Linked DNA regions of Homo sapiens: region 1 is linked to region 2. The links are contacts of gene promoters, found by promoter capture Hi-C in human tissues and cell types (Jung and others, 2019). All regions are on one chromosome and are shown on one strand. Each heading gives the region's core, a stretch centred on a gene start or on the middle of the fragment in contact. The rest is flanking DNA. Distances are from core to core; before and after follow the strand shown.

Region 1 (3,481 bases), core at 309-2,808, 46 kb after region 2:
TTGGATAACTCCCAAAGCACTCCCAGAACGAGCTCACTTCGATTCTAAGATCTCTGGGGTGTCACAGGTAAAGGAGATTGCCAATGAGATTTAAAGTCTGGGAGTTACTATCGCAGGCCATTGCCGTGACCTGACCAGAACATAAGACACAAAGGAACATGAATCTAAGAAGGAAATATGGCAAACCAAGCCAAGGCATTTACTTTTGAGGGCAAATCACAAGCTTTAAGGGAAAAATAAAAAAAAAATTACTTTTAGATCTTACAATCAGAATTGTGCAAGTAACTATAATTCTGGAAGTATGGTTCAGGGTGGGCACTCCTCGAGCCCCCAGGCTCTGAGGTGTGGAGCTGGTAGTGTGTCCATGGGGGTCAGGAGCTTGAAATATTGTGCTACATATGCCAAGTATGCTCACTCCATATGTCTCTGGAGAGAGGAAAGACAAGCAGCTCCACCCCTTGCTGTGTGGCTGTGGTCAATTTACTTGACCTCTCTGAGCTTATTCTATAATTAGTAACGCTGACCTCATATTCCTAATGTATAGGTAGTTGTAAGGATTAGATATTGCACACAAAGGACTTAGCTCAGTGCATGGTACTTAATAAAGGATGAATAAGCTATATGATAAACTATTCATTTTTTATACAGTATCGGATCATTCTCTTTTCAAATTTTCCACTAGAGGGTGCCAAACACTAGCCTGAAACTTGGAAAAACTGTTGTCCAGACTCCCCCTGCCCCAAACACCCAATTTGTAAAACATGCTCTCAAGATCCTAAGCACTGGTGTCAGCAAAAAGACTTGGCAGACTCTCCATTTGCTTTCCTCTTCACCCCTGAGAGGTCCTACACCTAAAATAAAGACGCTCAACTTCAAGACTGTTAGTTTTAATTAAACACTTCTTACAGGTGCATAGATAGTGTTAACTGTGATGTTGCCATGGCTTTAAATCAGCTGCATACACAAGACAGAGCTGCAGGGGCCGCCTGCCCCTGAGGCAGGCAATGAGGGATGTTTGTAGAGAATTTAAACACAATAACACAGCTGACTAAAAGTCAGTTCGCTTGTGATATCACCAAGTGCTAGCAACTCTAAATAACATCAGTGATAAAATACTGTTCTGCAAAAAAAAAAAAAAATCTTTTGTTGTTCAAAGTTCCAAATAATCTCTGCAGACATGATGGCATCTTAGCAATATGTATGTAAGCTTCAATTTGATACATTTCTTACTTACCATTAATAATTTTAATATATCTGGAAGTTAATTCAGAGAACTCCATGTGGTACAGAAGCGTCTTCCTAGTGGACTCAGCCACATACATTTTGTTGTTATCTGTTCACACACAGCGCCAGCCCGGAGTTTGCACCTTGAGCGACAACTGTCTCCAACCCCTACATCTAAATAGTAAATTCAAAACAAACCATAATAACTGTGATTGTAATGATGAAAGGAGTAGACCTTGGGTTATCTTACTTTTGTCATTTTATGTGATAAAAAATTTTAAATTTGTATTTAAACTTTAAAACCAAAACAGGCAGAGAATCATGAGGTCAATTTTTTACTGGCAAACTGCAAATTTAGTTCATATGTGATGCGTTCCTAAATTTGAATAATATTCAAATGAAAAAGTACTCTTTCTTTCAATTGTGTTTTGAAACTAGAGATTGTTCAACTGGTCAATTTTTTAAAAATGAAGAAACTACAGACTGACTCAAGAAAATAATGATTGCTAATGATTGCATGATTATCACTATAAAAATAATTTTGATGTATGGGGAGGGTGTTAAAAACTCTCCACTCCAGGTGTCAACTGTTCTAGGTCTACTTTTGTCTTAAATCCCAACTAAGTCGCTTTGCACATCCAAGAAAGGAAGGCCGACTGCCCTGGGAGAGCCCCCAGTGATGCGCTGAGAAGAATCCTAGTTGTGGGCAGATGGGATTGGCTGCTCTCCTGAGCATACACACTGCCCCTGGACTCCTAAGCCCTCCAAGCCCTGTCTCTTCCACTCCTGCACCCCTGGAGACCTTTTATTTAAGGAGGCCCTATTTGGGAAGATCTCAGAGCACTTTACAAATACCAACTTTGGTCTACAAGTGGGAGGAAGTTTCAATCTCTGTATCCTAGATGAAGGGGCAGGCTCAGGCAAGGGAAACCCCATTGAAAGCCTTGCTTTGAGTGTGTTCTGGCTATGACCACACCATGATATATGCATGTTATTACACACAGACCTACGCTTCAAGAATGCATGAGCTACCCTCCCATGGAACTTGGTCAGTTATTATCCAGCAAAATAAATGGACAACTTTTCTATTCCCTTCTCCTTTGCATTGTTGCAGTGTTTCACATTCCCATCCCCAAATTAGAGGGATGAAAGAAAGCAAAAACATTCTTTCCTATCCATAGTACATGTTTCTAGAAACATAGCCAACTCCATTCCCCCAATAGCTACCAAGCTAGTAACAATTCATACCATTTATTAAGAGTAGAAGTACACACCAAATCAAACTGTTCTGTCTGCTTTATTTTTAATTCTTGCAGTAACTTCAAGCAAGTTGCAAAAACATCACCCAGCTAATGATACAAGGAGCCAGCCCTCTTTGTATCTTGGAGCACCAGGCATTCTTCCAGGCATGTATAGAAATGAGCTCAATCGGCCGGGCGTGGTGGCTCAGGCCTGTAATCCCAGCATTTTGGGAGGCTGAGGCAGGCGGAGCACGAGGTTAGGAAATCAAGAACCATCCTGGCCAAGATGGTGAAACCCCATCTCTACTAAAAATACAAAAATTAGCTGGGCGTGGTGGCGCATGCCTGTAGTCCCGGATACTCTGGAGGCTGAGGCAGGAGAATCGCTTGAACCAGAGAGTCAGAGGTTGCAGTGAGCTGAGATCACACCACTGCACTCCAGCCTGGCAACAGAGCGAGACTCTGGCTCAAGAAAAAAAAAGAAAGAAAGAAAGAAAAAAAAGAAAGAAAGAAGTAAGCTTATTCTTCCCCCAACGCCCAAATCCTTTTTTTTTTTTTTTTTTTTTTTTTGGAGAGACAGAGTCTTGCTCTGTCGTCCAGGCTGGAGTCCAGTGGCGCCATCTCGGCTCACTGCAAGCTCTGTCTCCCGGGTCCATGCCATTCTTCTGCCTCAGCCTCCCAAGTAGCTGGGACTATAGGTGCCCGCCACCACGCCTGGCTAATTTTTGTATTTTTAGTAGAGACGGGGTTTCACCGTGTTAGCCAGAATGGTCCCGATCTCCTGACCTTGTGATCCACCCGCCTCAGCCCCCTAAAGCACTGGGATTACAGGTGTGAGTCACCACGCCTGGCCTCCTTTTTTAAGTTCTAAGTTTTCAAATTAAAATTGTGGTAAACTACACATAAAGTGACATTTACCATCTTAACCATTTCTCAGTGTACAATGTCATGGTCTTCAGCACATTCCCACTGTTGTACAACCGTCGCCACCACCCATCTCCAGAACTCTTCATCTT
Region 2 (3,683 bases), core at 1,153-3,652:
TAAATGCCTAAAATCTCCTACTAAGCTTGGAGTCAGGGCAGCCTAGGCAAAATGTCTTCTCACAGAAGCCATGCACTTGAAGAGCTTGTCCCTGTGTAATTTATCTTCAGTAAGATTTTTTTCTCTTGCAAATGCTCTCACCTACAACTCACTGTTTCCAGAATACACACAAGCTAATTTAAGTAAGAGGGCACAGATGTACCCAGGTGTGAATGGGTTCATTTCCTCAGTTTAGCCAGTGAGGCAGTCAGTGAAGGCCACGGCAGAAAGAACACCTGCAAGTGGTTTGTGAGGGACTGAACTGGGACACGGGAAATTTACAAAACGAGAAAGGGCCGCAAAGCCAAGCTTGCGTCTTGTGTAAATATAAATCACTTACACACTGGCCTGGCTACCAAAAACATCGTTTCCCCAGAATAGGTATCCAGGTGGCTTTAACTGATTTTCTGGAGGTGAGAGTTAACACCAAACGCTCGCGCCCATCACATTTTATCCCATTTTTACCTGTCGCTAAGAAAAGGACACGTCTAATCCAGCAAACCAAAAAAAAAAAAAGTCTTTTTTCCTTCTGGGAAAGCAGTGGTTTGGAGTCATTCACAGGGGCTGGGAGTGCAGGAGGGGGAAGGGGCGTGGAATCCAGGAGTGCTCGGAGGCGGCAGCAAGGGTTTTTCCACAGGGCCCCACGCAGGCCACTGCAGAGGGAGAACGGGGGAAGAGGGGAGGATGTCTCACCTGGGAACAAACCCGAATGCAGCGGCTGGAGGAGGGAAGGCTCCCCGGGGCCGCGAGCTGGGGTGCAGCCCAGGGCGCCCGCAGCTGGTTACCTCGGGAGGCAGGGAAAAGGGACGCTTGGGAACGGAGCTCTGCAGAGGGGACGGGGAGGGCAGGTTGGGGCAAGAGCCCCGCCGAGTGCGAAGCGGGGACGAGGACGGGCCAACGGCAGGTCTCGGCCTCCCCGGGCCAAAGGCGTGGCCAGGGATCCAGATCAAACGCCGGTCTTTTGGAGACGCCAGGGGCGGCGCGCGGCCGGTCCCTCCTTCGAGCCCCCCGCGCTGGGCCCTTTCGAGGGGCCGCCCCGCGAAGCACCGGGAGGGCGGAGGGGGGCTCCTCAGGGCCGGCCCGCCCCCACCCCGCAGTGCTCTTACCTCCACACCTGCCCCATCTGCAGCAGGTGGATGACCGACTGCCAGATCCACACGGAGAGGCGACACAGGCGCTGCGCCCCCGGCGTGGGGGAGACCCTCACGCCTGGGCCACCGCGGGCCGCGCCGTGGACGTAGCCGGCCCCCATCATGGGGGGGCCCCGGCTGGTGAGCCCCTCCACGGCGCCCAGCCCGCCGCCCGTGTAGTCCTGCACGAACCAGCGGAAGCTCAGGCTCTGCACCAGCAGCGACGGCACCAGCACGAAGAAGAGGGTCAGCCCGAAGTAGACGTAGTCCCCCTTGCGGTAGTAGTCGAGGGCCAGCCACAGGTCGGTGCCCACGTCCCCGAAGAACACCAGCAGCGCCAGCACGATCCACAGGCAGTCGAGCCACGGCCGCTCCACCTGCGGCGGCGGCGGCTCCGGCCGCGCGGCCGAGGGCGTCGGGGGTTGGCGGCCGGCGCCGGGGGCCGCGGGAGGCTGCAGCGGCTGGTCCCCCCCGTCGGCGGCGGCGCTGCGGCGCGGCTTCCTGCCCAGGAGGGAGCGCAGGCAGGCGGAGCGGCAGCCCCAGTAGCACGAGGAGGTGTTGCAGCAGTGGCAGATGTGCATCGAGCTGCTCTCGCCGGGCTCGCTGCCGTCGCCGCCGCCGCCGCAGCCGCCTCCCCCGGGCTCCCCGTCCTCCTCGCCGCCGCTGCCCACCGCCTCGTCCAGGTTGTGCAGCTGAGCGAAGCCCACCCCCACGCCACCGCCATCGGATTTCGCCGCCATCTTGACTCTCTTCCCAGCTCCGGAGGTTGGGGGGGAGGGACGGCGGGGGGGGGGGGAAGAAGGCAGGGAACGGGGAGGGGGGGAAACGAATGGAGAGGAAGGGGGGCGGGGAGGAAGCGGGGGAGCAAACGAACGAGGGGGGAGTGGGCCAGGGAACCCCCTCCGCTTCCGGGTAGTTGGCGTCACTTCCGGGCGAGCCCCCCAATCGCACGGCGCCCGCAGCTCCCCAGCCCTACCCTCCCGGCCAAGATGGCCGCCCTCCTGTGCCTCAGCTGCTGGGCGGGGGACCGGGGGGTTCTCCCCGCCAGGGCTCCCCTTCCCCTCTTCCGTTGACCCCGAAACCCATCAGGTTGACCCCTCGGCGTTTCAGAATCCGGCTGGCCCGAGTGAGGCGGTCCAAAGTGATCCCTGGAGGGGGCAGTGCCAGACGTTTTGGGGTCCCCTTCCTCAGCGTCGCAGCTCACAGCTTTCCTCCTGGAGAAACGCCCCCTAACACCCTCCCGGCTGCTGGTGGAGGGGCGGGACCTCTGAGGGAAGGGGCGGAGCTAGTGCAAAGCAGGTGATTACGTGTCACTTCCGGGAGATGGGATGACCTCATTGTGTAGTTAGACAACACCCCCCCCCAATCAAAATGTCTATGTCTCACCTCTTTGGCTGTTTCTATTTTCTTTTAAATTTCTCTTATTCTTCTCTTATTTTGAGGGTCTTTAAAAATTACATAAGTCAGATTTTCACAATCAAGTTACTGATTCTCACTTCCATTTAGACACCTCTCCTCTTACCTCTGTTGACCTCCTGATTTTCCTGTCACTGACAACTTAACCACCTTTTGTAATAAAGTTTCCATCATTACCTTAAAAAAGCTTCAGGCAAAATTCAATTGGAAATCAGCCTGGTTGGGTCTTACATGTTGGAGCAAGGAATGAATGGGCATATTGTGACCTTGAATATATTTTCTGCCCTATGGAAATATATTCTACCAACTTTTTTTTTAATATGCAATTTTTAAATTCTGTGATCTTAATTTGGAAAATGCAGAACTAGCCAGGGCTTAACCTGTATCAATTATTTGTTCAGGTTATTTAAATGTGTAAGGAGTGCCTTTTAGAATTTTTTTGGTGCTAAGGCGCTGTGGGTAAACATTGCTTTAAATAAGGAAAAAAATGTTATCAATGTGCTATATCATTAAAGTAGGTGCAGGATACACTACTTAAACTTAGCTAACAAATTACAAAAGTGAAACAGCACTGAATGGATTTGAATTACAATGATCTTCCAGTGAAAGTATTTTTGAAGCCAGATAGCCAAAATAGGGCAAGCTACATGGTTACAGTTGTTCCTGATCAGATGAAATGAACATTTTACAGTTAAAAAAAAGAATGAGGGGGAAAAAAATCCCTGAATTTTCTCATTGACTTCCCTAGATTTTTGAACTCATTTTTGTGATTCTGTCTACTTCTCCATTCACTAAAGTCTTCTAATAATGCCAATAACTGTCTTTAGAATGTTAAGAGTACAAATTAGGTAATATTTATATGGCTGGAGGTTCTATGGCAGAAAGGTGCGTTTGACAACTTCAATAGTTACTTTGATACTATTGAATACTATGGCACCTATGAGTTTTGGGAGTGGCAGGGTAGATGGGGATACTACATTTTAGGACACAGCTTTTCATGAGTATATATGCCAGTGTGAAATCTCTGAAGACTTTAGAAAAATTACTAATAGTGAATTTTTACTCCCATACATTGGGAAGAGGGGAGTGATTCCAAAA

What was found. Contacts are between HindIII fragments. The study calls those that stand out against the background at their distance.
Region 1: a fragment that was not itself captured here is called in contact with the fragment with the promoter of XKR6 in region 2 in 1 of the 25 tissues and cell types used here (mesendoderm cells).

Annotation. Positions count from the first base shown.
Region 1 is chr8:11,246,392-11,249,872 of GRCh38, forward strand. It overlaps LINC00529 (long intergenic non-protein coding RNA 529), which reads right to left. Exons shown (of 5, transcript NR_170283.1): 5 at 873-1,398. Among named protein-coding and RNA genes, the nearest start is that of LINC00529, 36 kb to the right of the region's middle. The HindIII fragment of the contact is 4,309 bases long and covers 1-3,481 here.
Region 2 is chr8:11,199,431-11,203,113 of GRCh38, forward strand. It overlaps XKR6 (XK related 6), which reads right to left and starts at 2,403. Exons shown (of 3, transcript NM_173683.4): 1 at 1,146-2,403. The coding sequence starts at 1,909. RefSeq lists an enhancer at 7-126 and silencers at 887-1,356, 1,557-1,916, 1,997-2,166. The HindIII fragment of the contact is 3,836 bases long and covers 187-3,683 here.